2 separate regions of the Homo sapiens genome follow, and region 2 is linked to region 1. The links are contacts of gene promoters, found by promoter capture Hi-C in blood cells and fetal thymus (Javierre and others, 2016). All regions are on one chromosome and are shown on one strand. Each heading gives the region's core, a stretch centred on a gene start or on the middle of the fragment in contact. The rest is flanking DNA. Distances are from core to core; before and after follow the strand shown.

What was found. The method cuts DNA at HindIII sites, captures the fragments that hold promoters and counts their contacts. A CHiCAGO score of 5 or more calls a contact.
Region 2: a contact is called between a fragment that was not itself captured here and the fragment with the promoter of CRYBB3 in region 1, in 2 of 17 cell types (M1 macrophages and endothelial precursors). The highest score is 6.1, in M1 macrophages.

The regions. Positions count from the first base shown.
Region 1 is chr22:25,197,590-25,202,552 of GRCh38, forward strand. It overlaps CRYBB3 (crystallin beta B3), which reads left to right and starts at 2,269. Exons shown (of 6, transcript NM_004076.5): 1 at 2,269-2,320; 2 at 3,788-3,882. The coding sequence starts at 3,808. The HindIII fragment of the contact is 15,596 bases long and covers 1-4,963 here.
Region 2 is chr22:25,327,940-25,332,902 of GRCh38, forward strand. No RefSeq gene overlaps it. Among named protein-coding and RNA genes, the nearest start is that of CRYBB2, 110 kb to the left of the region's middle. The HindIII fragment of the contact is 737 bases long and covers 1,646-2,382 here.

The sequences.
Region 1 (4,963 bases), core at 1,019-3,518:
TGCAGAATGGGAGGCCATGGAAACAAGGCAGGATTTCCATTCAGACTGACAAGGGGTTGAGTCCTCCTCCTGCCACCCTCTGGCTGTGGGATTTCTTTTAAACATTGGTTCTCCTTAGCTATACAATGGGAGTGGTGATCAGGACATTTTTGCAGGTAACAGTTTAAGGTGGTGGTTCTCAGCTGGGTGGATTGTGCCCTCCAGAGCATGTCTGGTAATGAAAGGAGGCATTATTGGTTATCACAAGAAGGAGAGAAGATGCTCCAGGAAGTGAGTAGAGGCCAGGGATGCTGCTCAGCATCCTGCAGTGCACAGGACAGCTCCCACCCCGACCCCACCACAAAGAATGACCCGACCCCAAATGGCAGTAGTGTCAAGGTTGAAAAGTCTAGATTGGGGAGATGTGGTACATCAAAGTGCTGAGCGTGCAGTAGGTCTGCAAGGTCCTCAAAGATGTGATGGGAGGGGGAGCCACGCCATCCCCACCTCTGCCTTCCTCCTTCTGTCCCAGCTGGTGGCAACTACATCCCAACTCAGGGGGTCCAAACCGACTGCTTTCTGTGACCTTCAGCAGGAAGTAGCCCCTTGGCTTGAACTGTCCAGAGTAGGCAGGATGCTGGGAATAAAAGTCAAAAATAACAGATACTGTGCGCAGTGCTTTGCTTGCATGACCTCCCAAAATGGCCCAAGTGGAGAGAAGGTTCTCCATTTATGGTGAGGAGACAGTAGCTCTGAGACCTTCAGGAACTCGTCCAAGGTCACACACATCTGCCTGACTCAGAGTCCAGCTGTCATCCACAGCATCTCACCACCATCTCCCTCTAGGGGGTACAGGGTAACTGTGTTTTTGTTTGTTTGTTTGTTTTTTGAGACGGAGTCTTGCTCTGTTGCCCAGGCTGGAGTGCAGTGGTGCGATCTCAGCTCACTGCAAGCTCTGCCTCCTGGGTTCACACCATTCTCCTGCCTCAGCCTCCCATGTAGCTGGGACTACAGGCACCCGCCACCACACCTGGCTAATTTTTTGTGTTTTTAGTAGAGACAGGGTTTCACCGTGTTAGCCAGGATGGTCTCGAGCTCCTGACTTCGTGATCCGCCTGCCTCGGCCTCCCAGAGTGTTGGGATTACAGGCGTGAGCCACCGCGCCCGGCCTGTAACTGGGTTTTATGCTGACTTGAGGATTTTAGCCAAAAACAAATACCAACAACAACAAAAGAAAACCTTGTTAACTCACTCCTTTGCTCCAATATAATTTTATTCATAAAATAATCACTTATTAGATATTGATTACAGGCAAAATTATACTTTGTTAGACACTTAAAAAATTCCTGGAAGCTGGGTGCAGTGGCACGTGCCTGTAGTTCCGGTTATTCAGGACACTGAGGAGAAAGGATTGCTTGAGCCCAGGAGTTTGAGTCCAGCCTGGGCAATGTAGCAACAACCTATCTCTAAAAAATAAAATAAAAATACCTGGATCTACCTTTTTTCTTTGGTCATAAATAAGTTGACTGTGATGGTCACTTTTATTTCTATTGAGGCTAAGATCCCAGGTCCTGGAGCAGGCCAGCCCCTTCTCTCTGCTGTGTGATTCTGAGTAAATGGGTTCACCTCTCTGAACTCAGTTTCTCCATGTATAAAGTGGAATCAGAATTCCTCCCCTAAGGATGGCTGGATGAGAATTCCATACAATGCTTGTGAAGCTGGCACAATGCCTTGCGTGTAGTAGGTGTTCAAGAAATGGTAGCTATTATTCGTGCGTGTCTTCTACATGAAGAAAGTCAGTCTGTGAGTTCTGTGACGGCATCCTATGGAAACGGTTGGGTGGATTTGCGCCCAAGTTGGAGAGTATGGTTAGCGTGATCTGACTTAAAACTTAGGCCACATGGCACATGGAAACTGGAGAGTGTCTGGGGTCCCTCACTTTAAGAACTAGAATTTTTCCAAAGGTTGCGTGTGACTCAATAGGAAATGGTGACCCCAAGAAACCAAAGAAAGGGAGTTGGTGGTTGTGGGGAGACACGGGAGAGCTGCACACCGTGCCCCTTGCCTGGCGCTGCTGGGCTTCCCACAAAGCCAGTGAGGTTCATCTGTCCCCAGGAAGTCATCAGAGACGGTGGCTGAGGAGACAGGCACTGGGGGCCTCCGTGGACCCGCTATTGGAGTGAAGTGGCCTGGATGGAATTGGGTGGACAGGGTGCTGCCTCAGCAGGCTGGGATGTGCTGGGCTGTCAGAAAGTGCTCATAAATAGCATGCCCCTTGCGAAGACAGGCGAGTCTGCAGACGGCCGTGGCTCCTCTGTTCTTCCCGAGGCTACAGCAACAGGTTCATTCTGGGATGGGTTGGGGGTGGGGAGGCAAAAGCCACCCTGGCAGGCCCGGACCTTTTGTAGTTTCTGTGGGACGCGCATGGCTGACCGCCTGCAAAGAAAAACAGCGCCTCCCTTAAGGGTCAGGTCCCAGTGAGAGGACCCTGACAGCCCAGCTGGGGGTGGAACGAGGGACCCTTGTCTGCAGTGGCCAGGGTCCAAGCCCCTGGACATGTGCTTAGGGCAGGGGACCTTCCAAAACAGCTCCTCTGAGGGAGGGGAGTGGGCACACATGGTACCTGCCAAGTCCCCCGAGAGTCCCCTGTGAGCTGGACCAAGCCCTGTTTCCTGCTGAGGCTAGGAGAGACAGAACCGACAGCCCGCAGGCTGTGCATGGTTAGGCCCACATCCAGAGTATGTGGGCTGTGCAGCTGTGCATGCTGGGGTGGCCGTGCTGGGAGCCGTGGGTGGGTAACAGTTGGATGTGGGGTGTAGATGTAGGTGCCTTGTTTACCACTGTGGATGTCTGAAATGGGCAGGGATGTGTGTGTGTGAGGAGAGAGAGAGAGAGAGAGAAAGAAGCTGTCCTGTGAGCCCATGGGTGAAATATAACTGATAGTGACCATAGAAACTTTTGCGAGTGTGTGCACCTATGTGTGTGTGCTGACAAACAGAACAGTCCTGTGTGTGTCCATGGGTGCAACAATGATGAGAATCCTTCCATGTGACTGCGGCAGGGGCCTGTATTGCGTGTCACTGTCCCTGTAGCAATGAAGAACTGTCGGTGTCTGGGTCTTGAAGTGGCTGGTACACAGTCGTGTTCAATAAATGCTTAAGGAATGAGTAACCGAACGCAGGGAAACTGACCTGGAGCAGGTGTCCAACGACCTGGTCTTACAAGCCTTTTCTCTAGAGGTCTGTCTGTCCACCTCCCGACATATGGGGTCTCCTGTCCCTCCTGGTCACCCAGCCCAGAGCCTGGCACTGTGTAGGTGCTCATGGAATATTTGTTGAATAAAGTAACCAGTGAACAAAAGAGTTCCTGGAGTACGGAGGTGGGAGAGACCCCTGTAGAGGAAACTCCCTGAAGCCCACCCTTTAGCCAGGTTCTGGGGGTGGGACATCTGCAGAGAGCTCTGAGAAACCTGGGTTTCGGGGAGCATCTGGATCAGGGGAAAAGGGCACGGGCTTTGGAGCCAGGCCCGACCCAGGCCACTTCCTCACTGTGTGCTTGAGGAAGTGGCCTCACTTTGCTGAGCCTCAGAGTTCCCCTCTGTACAATGGGGCTCCTGATCCCACTGTCTCAGTCCACGTGGCCCATGGCAGGTGCTCAATGGATGTTTGCTGAATGACTGAATGTCGATCATAAGTTACAGCCACGCCCCATGGGCAGCAAGGCTCTGTAGCTCATCCTGGACTCCAGTCACATCAACACCTGGCTTCTCCCGGGTGGATCCAGTGAACCATTTTCTTTTGGTTTGAAGCCAGAGGTGTTCCTGGGGAGATGGCGGAACAGCACGGAGCACCCGAACAGGCTGCAGCTGGCAAGAGCCATGGAGACCTTGGGGGCAGCTACAAGGTACTGGGCAGGGAGGGGGTCAGAGGGCCCAGGCTACTCCTGGGCCTCAGGGTCATCTTCCCAGCCAAGCAGCACCTCTGCAGGAAGGAAGAGCCATCCTTCCAACCACCCAGGCCAGGACAAAACGCTCCGGGTGGGTCCTCTCACTGCCACCCTCCCGTTAGAAACTTGCTTCATGACTTTGCTGCATCTTCCCTCGTCTGCAAAACAGAAATGGTCACCCACATCCTGCCTGCACCAATGGATCAGAGAGGCCCGGGGGTTTCTGGAAACGGCTCTGAGCTCTGACTCTCCTGTCTGACCTCAGCCTGGTGTCTTGCCCACTCTGGGGAAAAGGGCACAGGGTTTGGAGGCTCTCTGGGCCTCAACAGCCCCATGTTTGAAATGAGGATGGTGCCCAGATATTGTGCCCAGAGTTGGTGTAAAGGCTGAAAGACATGAGTGAAGCCAGCTAGCAGAGGGAGGCACACTAGAAATCTGAGAGAAGGTTTGAATGTGTTGGCTCTGCCCTTTCCAAACCATCTCCGGGGTCTTTTTGGGAAACTATTCCAGACAGAGTCTAAGGATGGGTCGAATCCCAGTGCCTCCTCTTAACTTGCTGTGCAGCCCGAGGCAAGTATCTTACCCTTTCTGAGCTTCTTTGATCCCTTCTGTAAAATGACTAGAACAGATGTTCCCTGGGGATCTTCTACAAAGTCAGTTTGTGTTTCCAGGTGGGTGAGAGAGGCAAAACCTTGGTCTGCCTTTGCAGCCCTTCTCTTCCTAGGCTTGGGGCAGGCAGAGGTCTTCCCCGAGACTGCAAACAGGTGTTTTCATTTTTTTAAGGGGGAAATTTCCTATTAAGGAAAATACAGATTTCTGACCTCTCTTGAAAAAATTGGAACTGGGACCTCATTCCCTCATCGCCAGAAGCAGCTTCATTTCCCCACCGACCTCTCGGGTTATTTCAGTCCGCTGGACTCCCCACCTGGCTCCTGCTGGACATCAGAGTTGCAATCACTAGTTTAATTGGTCTCATTGAAGTTCCTGAAGGCGTTTCCCTCCATGACCATTAGAGGGCAGTGCAGGCCCACCTCAGTGC
Region 2 (4,963 bases), core at 764-3,263, 130 kb after region 1:
CCTTTTCTCAATGAAAATTCAAATACCCCAATTTTGGAGTCCCCATCCCATTCTCTAGCCTCACCTATCCGGCCGGTTTGGTACCTAAATGAAGGAACCAGCTAAGGGTCAGATTGTTACTTTTCTCCCAACCCTTAAAGTAGCTAATAATTGGGATAATTCAGGCCCAAATATTTGGATTTTTTGTTTTTTTTTTTTTGAGATGGAGTCTCACTCTGTTGTCCAGGCTGGAGGGCAGAGGCATGATCTCAGCTCACTGCCACTTCTGCCTCCCGGGTTCAAGCAATTCTTCTGCCTCAGCCTCCTGAGTAGCTGGGACTACAGGCACGTGCCACCACACCTGGCTAATTTTTTGTATTTTTAGTACAGGTGGGTTTCACCGTGTTAGCCAGGATGGTCTCTATCTCCTGACCTCATGATCCACCTGCCTCGGCCTTCCAAAGTGTTGGGATTACAGGCGTGAGCCACTGCGCCCGGCTGGAGATTTCTTAAATTCAAAATTCAAAATTATTATTTTTTGAGACAAGGCCTCATTTTGTCACCCAGGAATGCATTGGTGCAATGACAGCTCACTGCAACCTTGACCTCCTCAGGTTCAGGTGTTCCCCCCACCTCAGGCTCCCAAGTAACTGGCACTAAGGCATCATGCCAAGCTAATTTTTCTATTTTTTTTTTTTTGTATAGATGGGGTTTCATCATGTTGCCCAGGCTTGGTTCACTTTTAATAGTAAAGGACACCTCAAATGTTTAGATATTTGCTTTCACTTTGGGCAATTATGAATATAGCTATTAAAAACCTTGCTGTGTCTTGTTTAAAAATTATGTTTCCAAAATATAACTAAGGAAATACTTAGGATTATAATTACTTGCTTGTATGGTAAGACCAGGTTTTTCTTTGTAAGAATTTTGGGGCTGGGCACGGTGGCTCACGCCTGTAATCCCAGCACTTTGGGAAGCTGAGGCGGGTGATCACGAGGTCAGGAGATCAAGACCATCCTGGCCAACATGGCGAGACCCCGCCTCCACTAAAAATACAAAAATCAGCTGGGCGTGGTGGCCTGTGCCTGTAATCCCAGCTACTTGAGAGGCTGAGGCAGGAGAATCGCTTGAACCAGGGAGTCAGATGTTGCAGTGAGCCGAGTTCGCGCCACTGCACTCCAGCTTGGTGACAGAGCAAAACTGCGTCGCAAAAAACAACAACAAAAAAGAATTTTGGTAGAATTTTTTTTTTTTTTTTTTAACCAGTGAAATCATATGAATGTAGTGTTTTTGGTTTTTCCTTCTTTTGAAAGATTATTAATCATTGCTTCAATTTCTAAAATAAATATAGGCCTATTCAGATGATCTATTTTTCCCCAGAAGACTTTTGGTCTTCTAAAATCGATAAAAAGGAATGAGCTCATTTCATCTATGTATCAAATTGTGGGCATAGATGTGTTCAGAATATTCCTTTATTATTTTTTGATTTAACTGCTCTTCAATTGATGCTATTAGTACATTGTAACATCTTTCTTTCCTTTGTGGTTAGCCAAGGTAGAGGTTTATCAATGGTACTGATCTCAAAGAACTGGCTTTTTGTTTTATTGATTTTCTCGGATGATTTTCTGTTTTCTATTCCATTGATTTCTGCAAGAATTGTTTTTTAAGCTTAGAGTATGAATTTAGATTTTTCTCATTATTGACACCGCGTCATGAATGTAGTTCACTGAATTCAATCTCACTGAAATGTACACTAAATAATTAAAATAATATGTATGCTTCACCATAATTTAAAAAGTAAAACACGATAGGTGATAAATGTAGTAGCAGGATATGTAAATCCACAGAATTAAATGGTCTTGTAACATTTTGAAAAATGAGGGGATTGGCCTGGACCTTCAAATGGGCAGGAGGTGTGAGGAGATGCTCTCACAGAACCATACAGTGCCTTTCTGTATTAATCAGTTCTTAACGCTAATATTTCACATTTCTCCTCCTCTCCTTTGCTTTCCTTCCACACCAAAGAGAATGGTCCAGCAGCAGCTCAGTCCATGCTTGTCAACCACCCACCTCCATAGACTTCAGCGCTGGTCCCCACATCCCCCAAGGCTCCTAGTGGGATTCCTGAGAAGCACCAATGCACTGACTATTACTCTATGTTCTCCTAGCTTCTGTTCTGGACCTGGAAGATATTGCGCTTGATATTGCGGAGGAGGTGTTATCTGAAATGGTGAGATGCATTCCTTCATCTGGAAGAGAATTTTTTTTTTTTCTGGGGCTTCTTCCCTTATTAATGAAATGAAGACATAAAAGTCTGACCATATACATAACAGATGACTAAGACAATTTTCTTGGTGGGGGGAATATCAAGTGAATATCATTTTTGATTGCCATTGTCAATCAAGCTTCAGTTGATCAAGCTTCAGTTGGTCATGGACTCTAGTGACCAGCCATGAGTTTATGAACAACTGAGGCCTAATTGATGATGACAGTAAAAAATGACAGCATTACCTACAAACTGTCTGGTAGTGAGCATATTTTTTAGTAGCAACTTTTTCTTCTTGAAAAATAATTTTGTATTTGCCAGCCAACATGGACTTGCAAATATTCCATGAAAACCCATTGCCCAAAATTCCTACCGTATGTATTTATTATTTTTAAAAAAAGCTTTATTGAGAAATAGTTGACATGCAAAACAATTCACCCATTTAAAGTGGGTGATTCAGTGTTTTTACTGTATTTACAGGGTTGTGCAACCATTGTACAATCTCATTTTAGAACGTTTTCATTCCTCCACGAAGAAACCCTGTATCCATTAGTGGTTACTCCTCTCTTTTTCCAACCCCCACACCTCTGGCGATAGGAAGCCACTCATCTACTTTCTATTGCTGTAGATTTGCCTACTCCGGCCGTTTCTTTTTTAACTTGTTTTTTTTTTTTTTTTTTTTAAGTTCTGAGATACATGTGCAGGATGTACAGGTTTGTTACATAGGTAAAAGTGTGCCATGGTGGTTTGCTGCACCTGTCAAACCATCACCTAGGTATTAAGCCCTGCATGCATTTGCTGTTTATCCAGATGCTCTCCCTTCCCCTGCCCCGACAGGCCCGAGTGTGTCTTGTTCTCTTCTCTAACACCGTATATATCCTAAGACCACTCCCTTGCTGATACAAATCTAAGTGATGGGTTGTGGGGGGCTCTATTCCCTGCTTTTGTCTGGAGAGCCTGCCTGGCCTCAGGTTCCTGATAGGAGTGAGGACCTGGAGTGCACTGTGAGAAACAGATGGCTCAGTGAAGAACTGTCATCATCCACTGGAGTCCCTGGAAACAGCCGTATCATTTAGATGGTGTGGGTTTGTGTGCATGAGGGTTGGGAGTTAGCTAGGGATGAATTAATGTGTAGTGATTGTGAATGTGTTTGTAAATGTGTGTTTTTCCCCTAAAATGTGGACCCGCATGCCCAGCACAGTGCAAGTGTCAGTTTTCTTGAATTCCTGGCCTATGGTGGTTCTCTCACCTCAGCCTCCCGAGTCATGTCATTCTTCTAATAAAAAGGAAGAAAAACTTCAACACCACCATACACTTTACATAAATGACCTCTTTACTCCCTCACCACAGCTGTACCTGAAGGTCAGTTTAATATCCCTACTCCTTATATGGAGAGAGTGCAGAAAGGAATGAACCCAGATTTTGACCTCCTGAATGGAAAAGGCAAAAGTGAACCCAGAAATGGGTCCCGATGTTGATGGTCTGTATTACTTAACTGTGTCAGCACTCAGGCTTGGTGATATGACCCTACACCAGGGAGTTCCAGCACCTATGTGTGCCCCTGGTAGTGGTAGTGGATGGCCTATAAGCGTGCCAAACATTGCCCATCATCAAATGGGGCCCCATTGGTCACATAACCCTGGGTAGCAAAAGGTACACGGAACAATAGACGTTGGCATGGACATTACTGTGAAATATACATAGAAAGCCCACAGGCTTCTGGTCAGCTCACAGATTCTGAGAAGTGTAAGGGATCACATGGAATAGTGCAGGTCAACATCTGTCAGTGCTGCGATCATTCCTTAGCACTTGGTCAAAGCAGGGAAGGATCAGGAAGATATTGCATTGTATTTAGTAACATGAGTACCTCAAGCCTTAGAAATGCTCCAATCCATGGCCGGGCACGGTGGGAGGCTGAGACAGCCGATCACCTGAGTCAGGAGTTTGAGACCAGCCTGGCCAACATGGTGAAAGCCTGTATTTTTATACAAAAAGTAGTCAGGCATGGTGGCACACACCTGTAATCCCAGCTACTTGGGAGGCTGAGGCTGGAGAATCACTTGAACCTGGGAGGTGGAGGTTGCAGTGAGCCAAGATCGAACCCCTGCACTGCAGTCTGAGTGGCAGAGTGAAACTCTGTCTCAAAAAAAAAAAAAAAAAAAAAAGCTCCAATCCATAGCAGACGGACAAGGGCCAGTGCCACATCAGAACTCAGAGGACATTGTTGTTAGCCTGGTGCCCATCAATCTCACTGGAGACCTCCTGCATCGCTACGTTAGTGAGGCTTAGCGCTCACCATGTACTGATCCCCATGATGGACTGTCCCACTGTCGGGGGCTGGTGTGAGCATGAGCAGCCACTGACTCAATGGACGCACACAGTGTAAAGAAACGGAAGACATGGGCTGGGCGCGGTGGCTCAAGCCTCTAATCCCAGCACTTTGGGAGGCCGAGGTGGGTGGATTGCCTGAGGTTAGGAGTTCAAGACCAGCCTGGCCGAGCTGGTGAAACCCCGTCTCAACTGCAAATACAAAAATTAGCTGGGTGTGGTGGTGGGCACCTGTAATGCCAGGTACTCAGGAGGCTGAGGCAGGAGAATCACTTGAACCCAGGAGGCAGAGGTAGCAGTGAGCCGAGATTGAGCCATTGCACTCCAGCCTGGGTGACTGGACGAGACTTCGTCTTAAAAAAAAAAAAAGAAAAAAGGAAGGGAAGAGCA